Regions from separate parts of the Homo sapiens genome. Here regions 1, 3, 4, 5, 6 and 7 are each linked to region 2. Evidence: promoter capture Hi-C in 16 types of primary human blood cells and fetal thymus (Javierre and others, 2016). All regions are on one chromosome and are shown on one strand. Each heading gives the region's core, a stretch centred on a gene start or on the middle of the fragment in contact. The rest is flanking DNA. Distances are from core to core; before and after follow the strand shown.

What was found. Contacts are between HindIII fragments. The CHiCAGO score rates a contact against its expected background, and 5 or more counts as called.
Region 1: a fragment that was not itself captured here is called in contact with the fragment with the promoter of PPP4R2 in region 2 in 1 of 17 cell types (fetal thymus); the score reaches 5.5 in fetal thymus.
Region 3: a fragment that was not itself captured here is called in contact with the fragment with the promoter of PPP4R2 in region 2 in 1 of 17 cell types (total B cells); the score reaches 5.1 in total B cells.
Region 4: a contact is called between a fragment that was not itself captured here and the fragment with the promoter of PPP4R2 in region 2, in 5 of 17 cell types (total CD4 T cells, naive CD4 T cells, naive CD8 T cells and 2 more). The highest score is 7.3, in total CD4 T cells.
Region 5: a contact is called between a fragment that was not itself captured here and the fragment with the promoter of PPP4R2 in region 2, in 1 of 17 cell types (total B cells). The highest score is 5.2, in total B cells.
Region 6: a contact is called between a fragment that was not itself captured here and the fragment with the promoter of PPP4R2 in region 2, in 9 of 17 cell types (total CD4 T cells, activated CD4 T cells, non-activated CD4 T cells and 6 more). The highest score is 11.6, in total CD4 T cells.
Region 7: a fragment that was not itself captured here is called in contact with the fragment with the promoter of PPP4R2 in region 2 in 1 of 17 cell types (fetal thymus); the score reaches 5.5 in fetal thymus.

The regions. Positions count from the first base shown.
Region 1 is chr3:71,658,551-71,661,448 of GRCh38, reverse strand. It overlaps a transcript of EIF4E3 not described here. Among named protein-coding and RNA genes, the nearest start is that of EIF4E3, 65 kb to the left of the region's middle. The HindIII fragment of the contact is 1,728 bases long and covers 528-2,255 here.
Region 2 is chr3:72,995,490-72,998,734 of GRCh38, reverse strand. PPP4R2 (protein phosphatase 4 regulatory subunit 2) reads right to left here and starts at 1,924. Exons shown (of 9, transcript NM_174907.4): 1 at 1,664-1,924; 2 at 577-658. The coding sequence starts at 1,697. LOC124909395 (a long non-coding RNA gene) reads left to right here and starts at 1,544. Exons shown (of 2, transcript XR_007095961.1): 1 at 1,544-1,628. RefSeq lists enhancers at 940-989, 2,250-2,299 and a silencer at 1,440-2,069. The HindIII fragment of the contact is 5,282 bases long and covers 1-3,245 here.
Region 3 is chr3:71,600,127-71,603,344 of GRCh38, reverse strand. No RefSeq gene overlaps it. Among named protein-coding and RNA genes, the nearest start is that of FOXP1-DT, 17 kb to the right of the region's middle. The HindIII fragment of the contact is 2,115 bases long and covers 641-2,755 here.
Region 4 is chr3:71,724,127-71,727,128 of GRCh38, reverse strand. It overlaps EIF4E3 (eukaryotic translation initiation factor 4E family member 3), which reads left to right and starts at 1,727. Exons shown (of 7, transcript NM_001134651.2): 1 at 1,727-1,937. The coding sequence starts at 1,762. RefSeq lists silencers at 2,003-2,072, 2,203-2,322. The HindIII fragment of the contact is 7,460 bases long and covers 1-3,002 here.
Region 5 is chr3:71,684,115-71,687,035 of GRCh38, reverse strand. EIF4E3 (eukaryotic translation initiation factor 4E family member 3) reads left to right here. Exons shown (of 7, transcript NM_001134651.2): 7 at 2,308-2,921. The coding sequence ends at 2,354. Among named protein-coding and RNA genes, the nearest start is that of EIF4E3, 40 kb to the left of the region's middle. The HindIII fragment of the contact is 8,614 bases long and covers 1-2,921 here.
Region 6 is chr3:71,701,800-71,704,685 of GRCh38, reverse strand. All of the region lies in intron 2 of EIF4E3 (eukaryotic translation initiation factor 4E family member 3), which reads left to right. Among named protein-coding and RNA genes, the nearest start is that of EIF4E3, 22 kb to the left of the region's middle. RefSeq lists an enhancer at 329-910. The HindIII fragment of the contact is 1,716 bases long and covers 431-2,146 here.
Region 7 is chr3:71,584,232-71,587,453 of GRCh38, reverse strand. FOXP1-DT (FOXP1 divergent transcript) reads right to left here and starts at 2,511. Exons shown (of 1, transcript NR_182289.1): 1 at 45-2,511. The HindIII fragment of the contact is 1,024 bases long and covers 1,445-2,468 here.

The DNA.
Region 1 (2,898 bases), core at 142-2,641, 1.3 Mb after region 2:
CAGCAAGATCTGAATACTAGTGCTTTTCACATAGGGTACTGGCCTAAGCAGTTGCACACTTTGGATGATAATAAACTTGGAAATTGAGGACCCTTTGGGAGCACGAGGCTTCCCAGTTTCTATTTCAGGGTCATCTTTATTTCACTCTGTCCCTTTAACCTTGCTGTTCCTTCCCTCTCCTCCAGAAACGTAAAGAAACTGCCGCCCCCGCCCCCCAACCCTCTTCTTCACAGGAATGTTGCAAAGATTAATTGGATAACTTCAGAATCATTCTTTTGAGTTGCTTGAAGGAAAAATGCCATCTAGAAGAACAAAGTAAAATAACAATAACAATTATTATATTTAAAAGTATTTATGAGAATCTCTGTGGGGGCAATTAAGAGGAGACCAGCTTGTACTTGTGGAAAATTCACAAGTTGATGAAACGCTCGCATCCCTGCCAGTGCCCCACGATTCTGCTGGGCTGCTGGTGGAAGGATGGTGTTGGGGTACTGGAACTGAAGTGCAAGCATGAGGGGGTGGAAGCTTCAGAGCCCCAGGCCCTCATCCTTCATAAAAATAACCAGCCTGCCCCGTGTCAGGCCTGCAGGAGATAGCACCTGTGATGGCCCCAGACTGGTTACCACGAAGTGCTCACACAGCTCTTTCCAAAAACGACATCTCCTTGTCATCCGCAAAACAGAACTTATTTTTTTGGGCTTCGGTGTCTGTCCTATAATTAATTACTGCCCATTTACAACAGAGACTGAAAATTCCTACTGCCTCAGCTGGGTGCCTGGAAGGACTTCTTTCACATCAGCTGATAGAACCTGTGTTTGTATTTAGCGGTGGGCCTGGCAGATAATGAGGTTTTGATGCCACAGAGCTATTTAGGTGAGTTTATTCTAGGCTCTAAGGATCCCTCGGCTGCTAACATCTGGTCTATTCAGATGTCGCTCTCTCTCCATTCAGAGGGCCCGGGTTTGGTGGGCAAGATGTTCTCTTTTACAATCGACTTGCCTTTGATCTTCAAGACTGGCTTTCCTGCTTAAACACCTGGCCATGCTTAGCCTCTGTAGCAATTCTGCACTCCTGCACAGTGTTTCTTTTCTTGGCTTTCTTTCTTTCTTTTTTTTTTCAGCTTCACTTTTTATACACAGATGGTCATCACGCTGTGTGCAACTGCAGCCGCAGCCTGCTCATCATCGGAGAACAGAATTTTTTTTCCCTCCAGCCGATTCAGACAGGATAACCTCTTAGGCAAACACTTGGGTACCTTCCCATCTCTTACAGCTTCATTTTCTGCTCACACCACCCCCACCAAGTCCTACCCACTGAGTGTGAGCAGAGGCTGGGCCCCCTAGAGCAGAGCTTCTCCAGCAGCAATGAGCATACATACTGACTGCCTGGGCATTTGATTAAAATACAGACTCTGATCCTTAGGCCAGGAGTGGGCCTCAGATTCTGACATCTGTCAGGCTCCCAGGCAACACCCATGCTGTTGGTCTGTGAACCACAGGCTGAATAGCAAAGTCCTAGATTACTTCTAGAATAATCTACACTTTGGCCTCCTCCCAGTAATGTACCTGCCTCTTCCCCGCTTTCTTAACAAAACTTAACTGCCTTATGTTCTGTTCTCATGAAAGCACCCTCCTGCCCCCAGGTGACTATCTCGTACTCAAATATTAATACCTGATGGAGAAGCAGGATGTGGAATCAGAAGACTGTGGGTATAGGAACTGTGTTGTGACCACAGTGTGAGAATTACATTTCTAATTGGTGAACCTTTATTGTTTTTAATATATCCTGGCAGTATTCTACCCTGATAAAAGTTTTAAAGTAATAATGTTATTCTCAATATGGAATTAGATCTTGACACGCTTTCTCCTTCCACCCCTATCCTCAGAGTTCACACAGAACAACAGAGGCTCAACTCATGGCCCATTCAGAGTGCCCAAACATAAGAATCACATCCTGTCAAGAAGACGATCTGTGCCCCTGTCACAGTTGATGCCATGGCTGAGACCAGTATGTTCTATTCAGATTTGAGAAAAGCAGTTTCCATGTAATAAGTCTGATGCCATAATTAAAACATGTAGCAACTGGGTCCATGCCTGCCTTTTACACGAATCCTCAAGAGCGACATTTAGATGAGCATGGACATCTGAAATCCACTTGATGCCATGGCTCTTTCTAGGAGGGAAGCTCCTTTATGCTGTCATTAAATGGGCACTTATGATTCTCCAATCATACATCAGGGTTGAGAGGCGCAAGCTTGCGAGTCCAACTCGCCTTGATTCATATCTTGGTTCCATACATGGCTTTAGCCCTGTTGTTTAACCTCGTTTAGCCTAGCTTTCCCTGTCTATATAATGGGCATAACTATTATTATCATGTATTTCAGGCCTGTCACATGATAGTCTTTGTAGACCCCACCTCTGTGGCTATGACAGCCCTGTAAAGCTGGCTAGCGACTGGTGTGATGTGGGTAACAGTCAATGACAGCAAACCAGCCCTTGCCTCTAGACAGGCCTTCAAGGCTCTTTCGGGCTTGAGTCTCCCTTACTCTCCTGCATCACTGGGGGGTTTCCAGGAACGAGCTTGTTCCACCAGTGCAGTGGGAGTGTGTGTGCTCTCAGGACTCAGGGCAACTGCTCCTACCCTTGTGATGTGAAGGGATTTCAGTATTTTAACTGGTCCATCTCCATTTGGCTGATCATATATTGAGAATTAGAGAGATTAAGCAAATTGCCCAAGACGGCCCAATCAGTGAGTGGTGGGTCTCAGGTGTGTCTCACTCTAGACACCTGTAGCCTTAACCGCTGAGCAGTCCTGCTCCATTTGACACGAGTGAATGTGCATGAAGGTGCCCAACAGTATCTGGCATGTGGATGGTAGGTCCTCAGGAAATCCTAGACT
Region 2 (3,245 bases), core at 675-3,174:
AAACGAGCTGAATAAAATGCTGAGCATATGTAACAAGTCAGCTATCTTAGAAAGTCTACAAGTCAAAACTGTAGCATCTGGAATTTGTCAGATAATAACAGAGTCCTCCAGACGATAAATAGAAGTGACACTTTAAACACCTACATATGCAAATATGACCAAAAAAAGGCTGGACACACGACAATATGAGAAAATACCACCAAGACTCTGAAACAGAATCAAAGCCACAAAATTCTAGGAATAAGCCTATTTGTTATGGCCAAAAAGGGTCATAATGGAATAGGCATTCTTCCTTTCTCTGGCTCGTTAAGACTAATACATTCTCTAAGCGTGCCAAAGCCTAGCTATAAAGAAAATTTTAACATACACAGGTTTTTAAAATCCGTTACAGACCATGTATAAAGTAAGTAAGCGTATACGTTCTTTAAATGTAAATATATAAATTATTTAAATGACCAGGACTTCTACAATTTAGAATGAATTATTTAATTATCCCAAAATATACTTTTTTCCCTTTCCTGAGCAATTCTTAATAATGCACTGGTCTATAACGACAAATGCATGTTTTCAACTCACATTGTTTCTCCAGTCTTGGCTACATGACAAAGAAACTGATCCAGGACAGGACAAACTTCCTTTTTCCCCCTCTTCTCAAAATCTAGATGAAGGAAGAAAAAAAAACGTTATCAGTTTTCTCAAAAGCGCTCTAAAAACAAACTTTCCTCCTAGTCCTTTACCTTATTAAAAATCAATTAAATACAAAATTAAAAAAATAAGGCCTCTCAACCAAATTACCACCTCAATCCTCCAAGTTCTACTTCCAACATGTCACCCTCTTTACAGATAACAAGAATCCTCCTAAAGGGGGCACTCAACTTCACAAACCATTTTTAACGCAGTGCTTCTCGAAGTGTGGTCCGGGGGAACACCAGCATTATATTAAGCTGGGAATCCAGTGAAAATAAAAATCCCCAGGCCCCGACTCCCACCAATTGTTCATCTAAGTCCATAAATCTGCCTTTCTAAGAAGCACCAACTACCCCAAGTTGCCGTCCCCAAATGATTCTGAATGTCAAAGAATAATTCTCAAAACGCTGAAATCTCTCTACTCGAAGTTTGTAAGCCACTGTTCTCAAGCCTGTTGCGTGGAAGGCGTGCAATCAAGAACAGTGAAGGCAACCACCTCGAAATTAGGGCGCGGAAAGATGACTTCAAAAGCCCTGAAAAAGGCATACTGAGACAACTTAAAAGTTGCGATGCTACCCCCTACCCCCGCCCCCACCAACCGTTTACTTTTTCTCCCACCCCAACGCCTAGCGTACGGGTAGCCTGGTGGAGAAAAGAGGATATCTGGGAGGGAGGGGTCTGCGGGTCCGCCACTCGTCCCCTGAACGGGTGGGAGAAAGACTGGGGCCCCCGCAAGAGTTTCCCCGGCTCCCCTCCCCCAGCCCAGACGCCGGCGGCCGACACAAAGCCAGAGCGGGGCGGGAGAGAGCTGCCCACAGGGCTCCCCGCCCCTGGGGAGGTGGAGGGGGATGGGAGCCCGGGAAGCACTCTCCCCACGCCGCGCCCGGCCCCGGTCCTCGGAACCATCCGCCCTGAAAGGAGAGAAGAGCGAGCCGGAGAAGGTGAGGGGGAATGGAGAGGGGGCAGCTACCCCCACCTTTCAGCGCCTCCTGGAGCCTCTCGACGTCCATGGCTTCCCGGAGTCCCTCACAGCCTCCGCCTCCCTCCGCGGGTCTCTTGGGGACCGGAACGCCTCCCCCCACCCCCCCGACGCCCTCCCCCTCCCTCGCACACACTCCGGCACGCAGGCGACCGGGGGGGGGAAACGAAGGGAGCCGGGGGAAGCGTGCGAGAGAGCAAGACCGACAGAGCGAGCACCTCCCCAAGCCGCTACCACCAACCCTCCAACATGGCGCCCGGTACGTCACCGCGCGCACGCTCCCTGCCGCCGTCCTCGCTCCCGCCGCGCGCTCCGGCCCGGAACCCGAGAGCGCGTGCGCGGCCGAGGTGTGACGCTGGGGCCCAGTGGCGTCTGCGTCCCGGCGGCTTCCAGAGCCTCAGCCCCAGCCCCAGCCCCAGGCCCAGGCTCCGCGGAGCTGAAGACTGGACGGTCAGGCGAGAGGGTTGCAGGCGGACTCCTAGGCTTTGAATCCCTGCCATTTCCTCTCTGTGTGAACTTAAGCTACTTACTTCGCCTGTCTGAGCCTCATTTTCCCCATCTGTACAGTAAGGGCACTGGTACTGATGCCCTATGCAGTTGCTGTGAGAATTCAGTGTATACACTTCACGTTCAGAATGCGCCTAAAAAACGTAGAGCGAGGCCGGGCAGGGGGCTCAGGCCGGTGATCCCAACACTTTGGGAGGGAGGCCGAGGCGAGAGGATCGCTTGAGCCCAGGAGTTCGAGACCAGTCTGGGTAACAAAATGACCCCGCTCCCTCGCCCTTCTCTATATAAAAATAAATACAGGCCGGGCGCGGTGACTCAAGCCTGTAATCCCAGCACTTTGGGAGGCTGGGGCGGGCGGAGCACCTGAAGTCAGGAGTTGAAGACCAACCTGGCCAACATGGCGAAACCCCGTCTCTACTAAAAATACAAAATGTAGTCGGGCGTGGTCGCTCGTGCCTGTAATCCCAGTTACTCGGGAGGCTGAGGCACGAGAATCGCTTGAATCCAGGAGGCGGAGGTTGCAGTGAGCCGATATCGCGCCACTGCCTCCAGCCTAGGCGACAAAGCGAGACTGTTTCAAAAAAATAATAATAAAATTAACAATACATACATACACTAAGCATTGCTAATAATCCTAACAAGAATACCTCCCTGCTTAACCCAACGTTCGTTCGTCACTGGCCCACCTGTGGCAAGAAGTAATGTATACAGCAAAGTCATTAAGAGCTCAAGGTTTGGAATCAATATTCAAATCCCAACTCAACTACTTACTCCTTGTGTGGCCCTGAAGTAGTTACCTAAACTCAGGCAGCTTCAGGGTTCTTATTTATAAAATGAGGGTTGTAAAACGGCCACGAGGATTGAGTGAAATGGCAAATGTGAAACATTTGGCACAGTGCGTGAAACCTGGAACACTCAACGTGGCTGGGTTTTTATTACCACTGTTAGCATTATTACATGACATAATCTCCCAGGAGGTAGGAGAGGGCGGAAACCTCAGAAGTCCTCTGCAGCCCTGACATTTTACAAATGGGAAAGCTGTGTCACAGACAGCAAGTCTGGGGAGACAGAA
Region 3 (3,218 bases), core at 449-2,948, 1.4 Mb after region 2:
CTTCCTTTTTTTTTTTTTTTTTTTGAGACGGAGTCCCGCTCTGTCACCCAGGCTGGAGTGCAGTGGCAAGATCTCGGCTGACTGCAACAACCTCCACCTCCTGGATTCAAGCCATTCTTGTGCCTCAGCCTCTCAAGTAGCTGGGACTATAGGCGTGTGCCACCACGCCTGGCTACTTTTTGTATTTTTAGTAGAGACGGGGTTTCACAGTGTTAGCCAGGATGGTCTCAATCTCCTGACCTCGTGATCTGCCTGCCTCGGCCTCCCAAAGTGCCGGGATTACAGGCATGAGCCACCGCACCCAGCCGTGGGTCTTACTTTTTTTTTTTTGAGACGGAGTCTCGCTCTGTCGCCCAGGCCGGACTACGGACTGCAGTGGCGCAATCTCGGCTCACTGCAAGCTCCGCCTCCCGGGTTCACGCCATTCTCCTGCCTCAGCCTCCCGAGTAGCTGGGACTACAGGCGCCCGCCACCGCGCCCGGCTAATTTTTTTTTTGTATTTTTAGTAGAGACGGGGTCTCACCTTGTTAGCCAGGATGGTCTTGATCTCCTGACCTCATGATCCACCCGCCTCGGCCTCCCAAAGTGCTGGGATTACAGGCGTGAGCCACCGCGCCCGGCCGGGTCTTACTTTTAAGCTTTGTTGAGTGGGACCAGGTCAGCATTTGATCGAGGGCTAGTTATTTCCCACCTCTTGAAGCAAGACTCTTCTGAATACTCTACCTGATGCCTTGTGAATTATCAGGTTTTCCACGCTGGCCATAGGGATCATCTGCTATTTCTGGCCATCTGTGAGCTCTCTAGGAATTGTTCTTTCTAATCTTTTTGGGTGTGTTTTTTCCCCCGGACTTTGGACAGTTTCCTTACATGCATGACTGATCAGGTCTCAGCTGAATAATCAAGGGACTCATTGGAAGTCTCTGGAGCACCCTCTGCAGTTAGCTCTCTCCTCTCATACTCTGCCCTGTGAGTTTCAGCCACCTTGGCCTTTCTGGACTCCCACCTCTGTGTCCTCCACTTAGGGCATCTTCCAGGATTTGTCTCAGTCCCTTCTTCCTACATTAGTAGCCTAGAATATCTCTCCAGATGGAGAGGATTTCATCCAGATTGGGAATATTTCATCCAGCTAGGATGATCATAAGATTCATCTTGATTGTTTGGGTGATGATAAAATGTAGGTTATTGCCAAGTAGGTGTTTGCTGAAGTGTTTGGAAGGGAAGGTCAATTGAGTACAGGAGAACACGGATACACCAGATTAGCTCATTAACAAGGATTTTGCAGCCTCACAGCATGATGGCAGAACATGTGTGGATAAAAACCGTGAGTCAGAGTCAAAGAACTTTAGTAAAATAGGAAGAGTGAGTCACCATCATTGTCATCACCATCACCATCACCATCACCCCTATTTTATGCCACTCTTACTCTGAGGTAGAGGTAGGAGCTTCGGGTTCATTATTACATTTAATCCTGGTGGTGGCCATGAAGAAGCCCTTCCCAGATTTCCCGCTGACAGAAGCATATAGTGACCGATGGTCTCAACTGCTGCACACTGAATTCACCACTATGTTTGCATCAATGCCATGCTTCCCACAGCCTTCTCCAGACCAATGTCTGAGTGTCACAGGAATACTAATGCGGGCCCATTACCATGAGACACAAGTGACTTGGCTCCAGGATGCTTCATTGACCTTGCTGAAACTTTGATGGAGTTGCACCATAACCTAAGACTTTCCCAACTCAAAATCCTTCCTCCCTCATTGCAGTCAGACCAGCTTTGTGGTCTGACACTCTTTTAGCCTCCTTCAGCTCCATTTTCCCTCACAGACATTTTCTCCAATATGTCTCTTGCACGTGTAATCCCTTCTTGGTGAATGCTTCTCAGAAAACTTGAGCTAGCACAATCCTCAAATAACTCTGTGAGGCATGTATCCAATCCACAGATGTGGATCATGGAGGTTGGAGATTGGAGAGGGGAAGTGACCTGCCCAAGGTCACACAAGTCATAAGGTGGCTGAACCAGGATTAGATCCCAGGGCTGTGTGACTTTATAGCTTATCATAAGCATGCTGTCCTGTTACTCTCTGGATGCAAAGATGGTGGCTTCATTGTGGGTAGGAACTCCAAATAAAAATGAATTATTGAAAGAAGGCTTGGGGAGAGGTGGAAGGGTGTTTGGAGAACTCTCATTCTGACTTCTTGCCATTAAAGATGTTGATTTGAGAAGGGAGTAGCCTTTACTTACAAGAGAAGCCATTTCTGTAGGTTGAGATAAGAAGAACATTTGGAAGAGAAGAAAAGGGTGTGGCTGTGGAGGTGATTCTGCTTCCTTTAACTCTTAGAATGATCACGGCAGAGTTATAGGCTTTGACTTAATAGAAAAGGCATTTTTAAATTCAGACAATTCCAAGAGACAAGAATTCGGTTCCATCCCAGTGCACTATGAGCTGTCAACATATAAGTCCAGGAGCAGCCTGGCTGAAAAGGGGCTCACGAAGGCCAAAGCAGAGTGAAGCCACAGAGAGGAGTGGTGGGAAAAGGTCTGTTAGCAAACTCCCAAAGATGCTTAGAGAGAAAGGGAGAGAGAGCAAATACTGAGGAAGTTCCAGCTGTTGGTGACTAGACATAACATCTGGGCAATTACTGACTTTTACTTTTCATCACAGTGTTTTGGTGCCTTGTAGACACAGCTAAGATGTCACGAATGTAGATAATTTAGTACAGTTGTTGTCATTTCTTGCTGAGTTGCCTTAAGCTTGACATTAGCAAAATCGATCTTACTTAAATAAGTTTTCAATACTTATTTGCTTTTGTGTTGCAGAGACGGATTGTTTTGCTTTAAGATGATTTGATAAAAAATAGCTTATTTCATATGAAAAACTGATATATTATTTGTTATTTTATCTCCACATGTCTTGGAATCTTTCGGGCAGAGAGAAATATGACCCCTAGAATTAGTTTTCTACTCCTTCAATAAAAGCTACACCAGTTCATCCATCAGTGATAGAGGTGGTTTAGGAAGAAATTACATTTGTTTTACTAAAGAAGTCCAAATGTTTTATTTAAATCTCTAACTTCCTGGAAAATTTGATGTGGGTGGTTTGTGTGTATGTGTGTGTGTGTTGTTGTTGTTGTTAGTAAACAGGAAGCTCTTGAAATTATACACTGCAAGCATGTAAATCCAGGTTTTGTTGTAGTTTCTTTTTGGGTGGGTTTTTTT
Region 4 (3,002 bases), core at 93-2,592, 1.3 Mb after region 2:
GAGAGTCTGGCAGTTGAAAGTCTAGACTCTGGAGTCTGAATACCTATGTTCAAATCCCAGCTGTCCCACTTACTAGCTCTGTGACCTTGGGGTTATCTTAATCTTATCTCTGTTCCTCATCTGTAAAATGGGTTAATAGTATCTTCCTCATTGGCTTATTGTAAGGATTAAATGAGTTATTACGGGTAAAGTGCTCAGAGCAGTTTAAACAATGCCATATACCACGCTTCTTGGAAAAATGAAAGGAGATATTAAGCAACAAGATAAATGCATCTAACCAAAAGCACCCTCCCCTGTTTTAGTGTTGGACAGATTTTATAAAATCTGTCATTGCTTCCAGCATTGTATGTTGTATAGAAGTTAAGTTTAAAGCAGCGGTCTTGTTTTTATTATTGTCACTTTATGTGACCTTGATTACCTTTTAGGGAGGGCATCTACTCTGGGATTCATGACAGTCTGCTATGATGCTGTTGATGCCCCTGAACTCATCTTGTTTTGTAGCTCTTCCATCCCAGCGAATGCTCAAGGCATGAACAGAACACATGCTAGGCCAGGTAGAAGGTCAATGAGGAGATGGCATCCCACGCCCTTCACTGTTCAAAGCCAGAGAGGAACTATCTAGAAATTCAAGTGTAAAGAGGATGTCCATGCTGGTTGTGACATGTGTGTTCACAGGCCTCATGCCTTTGCTTTTCTTTTGAAAAAGAAAGTGACAGAGACCTGGGGAGATGCTGTGTTAGGAGGGCCCCTCCTACTTTGGGCTCAGGAATCTCACCGCCTAAGGGACTTCCTGGGTGCTCAGAGGTACAGGAAGCAGAGCGCTCTGTGTTCACAGGTGCCCGCTTTCCTCCTCCCGACTCGCCGGTGCTTTAGGGCAGATCTGGATACTTTGGCTGATTTTGGGAAATGTTCTCTGAAGTTAGCCACACGTTAAGCCAGGCTTGAGGCCTTCACTGTGGTCACATGGTAGCTCCAGAGGTTGGGATGGGGGCTCTGGCCCCTTCAAATCAGCGGAGTTAGGAAGTATGCTCTCACCAAGAGGAATGCAAAGCCCACCTGCTCCAACCTCATGCCCCAGTCGGTGGTTCTCTTGTTCGTTCTTCTTTCTCGCCCTTTGTTCTGTACTCGCGGGCACTGGAGTCTCTTTATCCATTTGGCCATCGGTTCCCCTCTCCATTTATCTGTCACACCCAACTGTGCTTCCATCTGCCCTCCATCCCTCCTTCTCTCCTCCAGCCATCTGCCAGCCTTCACTCCATCCTTCTGACTGCTGGTATGTCTGTCCATCCCTCCTTCCCTCGCACCACGTGGGTCTGGGGCTCCATCCCCTGTCCCATCCATCCCTCCATCTGTCCCTAGCCTGCCGCTCCATCCCGCTGCCCTTTTGCATGGCTGCAGAGCCAGCCCGCAGACCGTTCCCCGGTCCCTCTCACCCCCGTGGGCCCTCTAGCCCGTCCCCGGCCGCCACTCCAGGCCAGGCCGTCAGTCTCCCACGCTGGGCCCGCGCCTGAGCGGGATCGGCCCCCCATCCCTCCGTGGGTCTGTCTTTGTTCGGCGGCCCCGGCCCGGCCGTGCCTCCCACGGCCCCTCCGCGCGGCTCCCAGGCCCTGAAGGCGGCGGGCGGCGGGCGGCGGGCGGCGGGCGGCTAGCCCGGGGCGGGGCGGGGCGCGCGGGGCGGGGCGGGGCGGGGGCCGGGGGTGACTCAGCCGCGCTCGCCCCGCGGTCCGCGCGTCCGCCGGCCTTGCAGGCGGGGCGGAGAAAATGGCGCTGCCCCCGGCCGCCGCGCCCCCCGCCGGGGCCCGGGAGCCGCCGGGGTCCCGCGCCGCCGCCGCTGCCGCCGCCCCCGAGCCGCCGCTCGGCCTGCAGCAGCTGTCGGCGCTGCAGCCTGAGCCGGGCGGGGTCCCGCTGCACTCGTCCTGGACCTTCTGGCTCGACAGGTGAGGGGGCGCGGGGCCCGCCGCGCACGGCCCCGACCCGGGTCCTGCCGCCACCGCCGCTTTGTCTCGGCGCGGCCCCTCGCCCCGGCCCCGCTCCGCTGTGGCACAGACCTCGGCCCCTCCGCGCGTCCGCCTGCGCACCCCGGGACTCGCCCCGCCGGGTCGGAAGCCAGCTTCGGGCCGCGCCGGGCGGCTGTTCGGCGTCCTCGCCTCCGGGCCGGGGGAGGACAGCGCAGCCCGAAAAGTTTCGGCAACACTTTCTACCCCTTGTTCCCTTCCGATCGGAACGCGGCGTGCTGGCAGGGCCGTGGGAGAGGGTAGGCGAGCTGGGGGTGGCCGCGTCCCTGCTGCAGGGAGAGGGCTGTCCTGCTTACCCCGCGGGGCGCCTGGGAGCTCAGGACACGACCTCAGCTGTGACAGCGCTCGGAAAAGTTGCCCATCCCTTGGGAGGTGTGCGGTGGTGCAATGATTATTGCACGGCGGGCGCTCCCACCCCGTGTCCGGCCGCTGCTGCCGTGGACTCCTCTTCCAGTTCTTCCTCATCCACTGGGCAGGTATTTCCTGAACACCTACAGTGGAGCCACACACCTGCTATGCGCTGGAGATTCAATAATGAGCAGCAGCTGACCTTGTCAGGAAGGGGGTGAATTATGGCTTTCTCAAGGGACAACCCAGGTGCCATCTTTTCAGAAAGACCCCCTGACTACCGTATCTAAAATAGAAACCTTGCTCCCTCGTTTTGTATTCTCCTGCCCTGCCTTCTTTTTCTTCCTAATGCTTAATGCAGCTGGATTTTATTATATATGAATTTGTTTACTTTCAGTCTGTCTCCCCAGCTCCTCAACACCTCCCCTCAGTTAAGGATAAAAGAGCAGTGGATTTTTGTTTTTGGACATTTTGGACCTAGAACTGTGCCTGGTCCCTAGTAAGAACACCAGAAATTGTTATGAATGAATAGATGGATGAATGCAAAGCCCCTTCTTAGTGTCTGCCCTGCAGTGGGTGCCCAATGATGACACCTCAAGGTTGTCCCAAGAGCATTTGGAAATTTTGATGAAACCGTGT
Region 5 (2,921 bases), core at 253-2,752, 1.3 Mb after region 2:
AGAGAAAAACTCTGTCTCAAAAACAACAACAACAAATAATAATAATTGGGACAGAGACCATATGGTCATAAAGACAAACATTTATTCTCTTCCTTTTCCTGAAAATGTTTGCCAACTCCAGGCTTAGAGCAATTCTATAATCCCTTTCTACCCAAGGTAACCTAAGGCTGACAGTACACCTGTTCACTAGGCACTCCCAATTCTGAATGTTCTGTTGTACTGTCTCTTTAACCCATCAACATTGTAGTTTGCAACTATGACCACCCCAGACTGCCCCTCACACCTAGAAGTAACACAGATCTTTGGATAGTCTGTATATCTGGATTTATTGTTTGGAAACCAGGTCACTGTAGTTCTATGGTACCTCTACTTGACCCTGAAGCATAGTGTAATTTCCTTGCAGATCAAAGCGTGTTTTCTTCGATATCTTCCCTAAATATCTTTCTTAAAAAGAAAACACACACACACACACACACACACACACACACACACTCAATGTGAAATATTTGCAAAGTTAAAGCTGTGAGAAATGTTCTATTAAATTAGTTCAGATTTCAGGCTGCCCTTAGGAGTATGGCCAACCTGAGGTGACCTGGGAGGTATAAAGTGCATCTCTCCCAGTGTTTCATCCAAGTGCGGAGTAGGTTGGGGTGAACGTCCAAGATGATGTTGAAGGGAAAATAGGCCCGTTCCATCCACCCCCTCAGCAATAGTCTGAAGAATTTAGTCCTTATGAAAAACACAGAGGCCAGGTACAGTGGTTCATGCCTGTAATCCCAGCACTTTGGGAGTCTGAGGCCGGTGGATCGCTTGAGCTCAGGAGTTCGAGACCAGCCTGGGCAACATGGCAAAACCCTGTCTCTATCAATCAAAAAGACAAAAGTTAGCCGGGCATGGTGGCACATACCTGTAATCCCAGCTACTCAGGAGACTGAAGTGAGAGGATTGCTTGAGCCCGGGAAGTCAAGGCTGCAGTGAGCCGAGTAGCATGATGCTACTGCACTCCAACCTGGGTGACAGAGCAGCAAGACCCAGTCTTAAAAAACAAAAAGAAAAATAAAACAGAACTGGAAGGGGCTTAAAAGGTGAAATGGGCCAGCCCATCTGCCTCCCTAGAACCCCATTCACTGCTAAGTGTGGGTAGCGTGTTGGGGATCAAAGCACCCAGAGTCCTGAATCACCCCACCTTTATCAGACGTTGCTTCCTGGTAATGGTTAACCAGATCCGGGAGGTAGATTGTCACACTCAGTCTTTTGCCTTAGAGAAAATGTTATGTATTTCGTAGGTCTCCCTGTGGCATCTTCTACTTTAAAAAACGTTAAGTGTTTGAAAATATTTTTGGTAGCATAATTTTTTTAAATTCCTGAGTTCCGGCTGGGCCTGGTGGCTCACGCCTATAATCCCACTACTTTGGGAGGCTGAGGCAGGTGGTTCACTTGAGGTCAGGAGTTCCAGACCAGCCTGTCCAACATGGTGAGACCCCCATCTCTACCAAAAATACAAAAATTAGCTGGACGTGGTGGCACACGCCTGTATCCCAGCTACTCCAGAGGCTGAGGCTGGAGAATTGCTTGAACCTGGGAGGCAGAGGAGGTTGCAGTGAGCCAAGATTGCGCCACTGCACTCCAGCCTGGGCTACAGAGCAAAACTACGTCTCAAAAAAATATATATATATTCTAGAGTTCCTAATTAAAATTAGTAATTTTGCAAGCCAGATGATAGGTCTGAATATCTATTGGCAGGGGGAAACTTGATTTGGAAAAATAAAACTTAGCAATTTTATGAAACTTCATTTCCCATGGAGAGTGTTGAGAGGTAGGGAGCAGGGGCACCTAGATATAATTGCTGTCACCCTGGTGTGGTTCTTTGTTTTGTTTTATTTTTAGTTTATTTTTAAAGATAGGCTTGTAAGCGGCTCTGTCTTGGGTTGTGTCAGGCACCCCCTCTCCCCACCCCCTGCAATGCATTTTGTGGGGCACATTTTCCCCTGCGGCATTTGCTTGCAGCCCAACATACTCTCTTCATCGGCTTGCTGAGATGACTCATCCTCCCAGGCACAGCAAGAAGAAACAGGCAGCATGCCCATTGCTTGTTTATTCCTTGTTTTAATTTTCATTATTACGTTTCTCAGGAAATGCACGCCTTAGCTAACAGTTACTGGCAAAAAAATAAATAAATAAATAAGGTGTTTGAGTTCTTGCCAACATTTGGGGAAGCTGAATGAGATGCCTAGAGGAGGGTTGGCCCATCCTTTGCTTAAAGTTTTCTTTCCTTTTTTTCTTTTTTGTTTTTTTTCTGTCCTTTAGCCCATGAAGAGCATCATGCTTTTGAAGGTGGACGTGGAAAACACTAATTGCACTCTGTAAAGAATTCTTTGTCCTTTGCTGATTGGTTTTGGAAACGGTCTTAACAGGAGGGAGAGTGAAGAGAAGACTTGCCGAAGCCGATGCTGGTCAATTTAGAGTGGGTTTCTGTCCTTGCAGATGGGCAATTAGGACTCAAAGTGGCAGGTGGGGTGGGGGGAGATTGTGTGGGTTTCTACCGTCACATTACTTGCTTTTTAAAAAAAACACACACAAAAAACTTTTTTTTTGGCTTTCTAAATTCTCTGTTCTTTTCACTCTGATTTTTTTTTTTTTTTGCCGTTTAAAATTCCTTATTCAGCCTAATTATTGTTTTCTACACTCCCCTTTCATTGAGGCACAAGAAATGGGTTTCCCTTTAAGTAGCTCTGCTGTACCTAGTTAATGAGAATATGCATAATCGTGACAATACTGCTTTTGAATACCACACTGTACAAGGAGGAACACTAGCTTGGAGAAATCTGTCTTCTGATTATTTGTTGTGACACATTCCTATGTACTGTGAGCTGGGCATTGTTTTTTTCTGTCCCAGGGAAAAGAAAAACCATACTTAATGT
Region 6 (2,886 bases), core at 39-2,538, 1.3 Mb after region 2:
TTGGGCCATGCCCACCACCTTTGGCCCTGCTGTAACCTCATGTTATGAAGACCCCTGCTATGTACACACACATCCAGACCCCAGGCCCTGTTGTCCTTAGGCTTTCTAGCAATTTCAAGCTCCAGATTGGAGATTTAGGAAATGTTGGCTGCCTTCCCCCGACCCCACCAGAATGAGGGGAACTCTATAAGGTTGTGGCAGGCCCTCCCGGCCAGAATAACCCCTCCTGCCTTCACAGCTGTTCTCAGACCTGACCGCCATGTTGCTCAGCGCTGTAGGAATGAGGGCCTTTTCTGGGAGTCTTGGAGCCTCTTGGGCTGTACCAGGAAGCAGGTTCCACACTCCTCTGGTCTAGGCATCCCCAATCTTTGGGTGGGGCTCTCTCCCATCCTTTCAGGGTTTTAACCCCACTGTCCTCTCTCTCCAAGCTTTTAACTCCCCAACTCAGAGTTGGTTTTTACTAACTTTCTATGTGGTGGGAAATTACCCTCACATCCTGTCACATCTCGTTTACTCTATGATCACAACTCCACACTTGGGCTCTCTCTTTAAGCCAAGCCCTTTTTGGAATTCAAAGGAAAACCCATTTCTCTCTCAAGTACCTAGCTCTTGTAAATCAGAAGCACTTTGCTTTCAGCCTTTGTGTCTGCTGTGAGTTAAAAACATCCATTAAACTCTTCAGTTGCCTATTCGGTTCAGATGCCTATTGGCCCTGCCCATAAATACCACTTATTCAGTTGGTGGGAAGCCCCAGGCAACTAGTAATACCTAATGAGCAAAAATATTTGTTTTGTTTTTTTGGAAATACTCTCTTGCTACACATGCCACAACCTTGGAATAAATCCTGGAATTTTTTTTTTTTTTTTTTTTTTTTGATGTGTGTTTGCTGGGTGGTTTTGTTTCTGGTTTGTTTTACAAAACAGACATATCACTTTGTTGTCTGTCAACACATGACATCTTTTCTTCTGAAGAATTTCCAAGTGCATTCTTTTTCTTCAGAACATTTCAGTAGGAAATTGAGGAGGAAATTTGCCAGTTTTCTTGGTAATGAATGATTATCTATTTGGCAGAAGGCTGTAAGGTGGGGCATAGTTGCTCCAATCAGTGCTATCAGATTGGGGATTTATCAAGTGGTCAGCATATTAATGGGTCTAACCATACTTTGTTTCCTTCCTTAGGCCTAGCAAGTGCTTTCACTTTGCATTTCATCATTACATTTTCCAGTGAAATAGCTGTATCCTTATACAGAGGAGGCAACGTGGGTTTCACGGGCTACATGACCTGTGAAGGTTATGCTGAGAACCTAGGTCTTAAATCCAGGTATTAGACTCCACTGGACAGGTGTCTTCCCTGCCTCAGTTTCTCCAGGAGAGGTGCCAGATTGGTGTTCCAGAACATACCTCCCAAGGAGTGGATTGCTGTGGTCAAAAGCTGACCCTCCTGCATTCAGCTAAGTTCCCCAAGGACCCGTCACAGTGCTCTGTTCACAACTGATGGTCACAGATGTTGACTGAATGAATGATGTTCAACTTTTATACCTCTCCTAGTCTTAGGGTGATTATCAAGGCTTTTGGGAAAAAAAAGCATTTAACCATCATTAATAAACATTGTGCTTAGTTTTACTTTTACTGCAATCTTGGATTTGCAAGTCTAACAGAATTAATTATAAGCCTAAAGGCTTCTGAAATCTATTTGCAAGATTTTATATATAGTAAAATTTAAGTGTTTCCATTTTCAAGATGTGTTACAGAGAGTATAATCTTGAATTACCAGGCTTCCGCTGTAGCAGACCTTTCACTTCTGCAAGGGCGGAAGAGGTTTTCAGGAGCTGAGTAATGCTAGATTCCTTCCTGTAGGTATTTCACCAGCAGACATACTTCACAAATATTCTACCTATTGGATGAGGTTTGCAACAGGGAAACAGACCAGTTTAATGACACATGCTTTTCAAATAGGGCTTTTTTTTTTTTTTTTAATGGTGTGACCGGATATTTTGCTCCTATTTTATGCTCAGCAAAAACGTACAAATATGTGCTTTAATGAATATGTTAAGTCTATCACTGATCTTCTTGGGCTGTAATCTCTTCCTGTCAAATTTGCCAAGCCAAGCAGAATCAGTTGTCTGTTTTTGTTTTCAAGAGAAGCTTCTAAAGCTCCAATCCTTAGCATGATCTTTAGTGTTTTTCTGATCTTTGAAATGGAAGAAGTGTTTTGTTGTATTTTTTCAGTGTGCTTCAAGTACTAGGTTAAAAAGTCAAGATTTGACAACTTTGACCGGGGTATGACGGCAGGAACTTTGGTTTGTGATGCCTTTGAGGAGACTTGAAGTTTGCCAGCACCAAAGTCCTCTTAGTTTTACCTTAGGCAGGGGTTTTCCTCTTAATGTTATTTTGTGCATAAATTCTACAGAGGTCATTGCCACATCGTAACCAGGTTCTCAGGCTGGAGTTGACAACCACCAGCCTCTTGTGAATTATGGGCATTTTACTGGTGGGAAAATATCTTCAACATGTGTCCCTCTTTCTGTGGCTTCATGACCTGATTCTTGGCTGCTAAGATTGGAGAAAGATGTGTCAAAAACATATAGTAGTATCTTCGAAGAAAATAGCTGAGTGGTTAGGAACAGAGGTTTGGGAATCAAATTGCCTGGATTCAGATTCCAGCCCTGCCTACCCACCCTCACACCACAGAAACTGAAATATTGGAATAATCTTATTTGTACAAATAGCAAAGCATTTACAGGATAGGTACCTCCATAGAGGCAGATGGGTGTTTGAGGAGCTACTGTTAATACAGTAGCTTTTAACTCCTCACTACACTAGCACCATTTTAGTAGAAGGGAGCCAAAGTGGATTCTCAATTAATACATCTGTCATCCTGTAGTTT
Region 7 (3,222 bases), core at 707-3,206, 1.4 Mb after region 2:
TGTCCTTAACCCTTCTCAACATTTGCCACTCTCCCTCCTTTTTTCAAAAATCATTTTTAATTTTTGTTTTGACCCTCAAAGAGAAATCAGTGACTTTGTTTTTACTGTGCTTGTTTTTAATTTATGGTGGGTGATACTGATTTCCCATTTAAGGCAGTAATAGAAAAAAATTAAAAGAAGGTTGATTTAAATGAAAATGTTTGCTACAATTACCATAATAAGTGGCCTCCAATGAGTATGGTATATTAATTATTCGGGAACTGTTATGTCATATAGATATGGCAAAAATCAGGACACCAGTAACTGTGGTTAAAGAAACACTAAATTAAGTGGTTTTAGTTTTTGTTCAACTCAAAACTTACAAGAGCATTCAGGTACGTCGTCAGGTGGTAAATGTCCACTCCAGTTTCTGTTCCCCAAATGTACATATATTTAGTGACATGGTATTTGGTGAATGAAGCTCATGTTTGGTGTATACAATCAACAGTAATGTGACAGGGGACTAACATATTCTGATACGTTTGGGAAAATTTTGGCTGCAGTTAACTATAATTTGCTAATTTTGCATTTACATTGGTTTTTTTTTTCTCCTGTTACTTAAAATATAACGAAATGGGGACAAGCACCTTTGCCTTGGTGTAATTAAAAATAAAATTATGTCAGGAACATCTGTTTTCAGAAGGGATTTCTATTTGTTTTATCACCAAAAGGTGGCGTCCTACCCCCATGCCCTTTATTTTAAAACCTTTCTTGCTTTAATTTAACAAAAAGAAACTTCCAGTTGATTACTGATAAAGAAATTAAAATCTGCCCCCCACGAATGTAACGTGACAGTGTTGAAAATGAACAATATGTTAAGCTGCAGTTAAGTTTCCCTCTAATGTAAACCAAATGGACATCGAGTTCTTTAATAAGGCAGCACAGCACATTAGACAGTATCATACAAAATTGAGTACAATATATCATGGGATTTACAACCAGGATTTCCTTTTGTCTGCAAAACTTGTTGCCAACCTGACTGTGGCCCCCACTTGCAAGTGAATGTAGAATTTAAGGCAGTTAAAATGCAGAATCAGATTAGCAGCAATCTAAAGATCTTTTTAGTATTGCGATGATAATAATTTTTAATAAACACACTGCTTAATCTGAAAAACAAGATCAGAGGATGAATTGTTCTTTACAGACTATGAATAGATCTGTTACATTTAAATAAGTCGTTATTCCCCTGAGTTATAATTCTACAGTCAGGCATATACCATAAACATGTTATATTTGGCATAAAGTACTTTAGAAATTAAAAACCATTTTTAATAGGTTGACCACTACAGAACCAGTAGACTGGCTACTTTGTAGATTTCCACTTAATTCCGTGTGAATTCAGCATATGGAATTTCCAGTGATGTCAAAGAGTTGTTGGCAGTATTAACTGAGTTGACATAAAGCTTTTAGTTCAGTGCCTAGATCATAGTATTTAATAAATGTTAGATGTTATTATTGACAGCTTAGACTGTGAGCTCCTCAAGGGCAGGAATTTTTATTTTTTCATCCCTCTGTGCCCACTCTGTGGTCTAGCACACAGTGGGTATGTCATTAATCCCTTTATGTCTTGACAAACAAGACGTCGAACCCTAGCCTCTAGGAAGCTAGGACATTCCATACAAACTAAAATGCATTTTATTGGTCTAGATTCTAGTCTAAAAGATTCAGTGAATAGTCTTATCTGGATAGCATGGAACTTTATGCAGCATGCATGCAATGTGAATTCTACCAGGCTGAAATTACCTTAGCAGCCTCCCTTTCTTTTATTCTGTAGCATCAGCGAATGGCTTTGTTATTTTTTTTTTTTAACTTGCGAAAGATACAATTTCAAAGCGATAGTCTTATGCCACCCTTGAAATTAAGATTTAAGTTCTTCTGTAAATTAATGTTTAACAATATTTGTAAAGGGGCATTACGCGAAAGAATTTAATAATAACCTTTTCAGGATATTATCTACAACTGTGCTGGTCTCAAGACCAAAGGGACAGTAAGCCTCTCCCCTCCCCGCAAGGGGAAGTACTTTGTAGGAATCCACAGGGGTGACTTTTAATATATTCTCATAAAGAATTGGCCTGGTGTACACCAGCCAGCCAGTAGCTGGAAATGCTGGTTTGGGAGTCTGGCCACTTCTGTGGTGGTGGGTCTGAAAAAATTTACTTCTGTTAACAACAACAACAACAACAACAACAAGACATAGAGGTCTTACAGCTTTCCAAGTCACGTTTTGGAAACACATACTCTGCTTCCTTCTCTATGCGTATTGATAAAAGTGAAAGAAATACTAGTGTCTTTTGTTTTATGTATGTATATTTCAAAACATTTAATTCAGGCTCTTAGTTTATTCCTTCGAATTTCTAAATTCAACCAAACTTCAAAAACCGCAAAAAGAAAAAAAAAAATCTCACCTTTTCAAAGAATTGGACAAAGCTTTTTGCACGTGACTGATCACTGGGAGAGCAGGTAATTTGTGTTAAACAACGGACTGACATGCTAGCCCCCAGGCGTTTTCCTAAGAGGAGTCGTGGCAAGAACACAGTTCCTGATGCAGCCACCTTCCCCCAAAGTGGACTCGATTGCACATTCCTGCAGTGGCTCTGACAAGGGGGCAGAAGCTCGTCCCACATTCACACTCTCCTGATTCCGAGAAACAGGGGAGAAAACCCCTCGCTGGCTGGCGGGGTTTCTGTTTCCTTGCAAACAGGGGTTTGTCCTTCTGCTGAACTTTCACCTCCCGAACTCGCCTTCTTTCATTGGACAAAGTGCAGAAAGAAAGAGGAGAGACCGAGGGAGGACGGGAGAGAGGGAGAAAGGGGGTTGAAAACACCACCTCCCACCCCGCTCTCCTTCAACTGTCACTGATGGCAAAACACTTTCACTTTTAACTGGAGGAAACTCACATTCTAGCCTGTCCTCTCCCCTCCCTTTCATATTTTTAGCTCAGAATCCAAGCAAATAGCCATCGCATTCCCATCTTCGTCCCTAGTTAACACTCTCCCTTCTCGTTTTTTCCGCTGTCTGAATGGGCCCCCCATTTCCCATCTCCTGAGGAATCTCCCCCTCCGCCCCCCTGCCCCTTATTTTCCAGGTCTTTCCTGCCAGATCCCTCTGTTGCCAGGGACTGCTCTGGCGTTCCCTTCCTCTCTCTGGTCCGCGGGGCTCTGCCTCCCTCTCCTCTTTCCAATC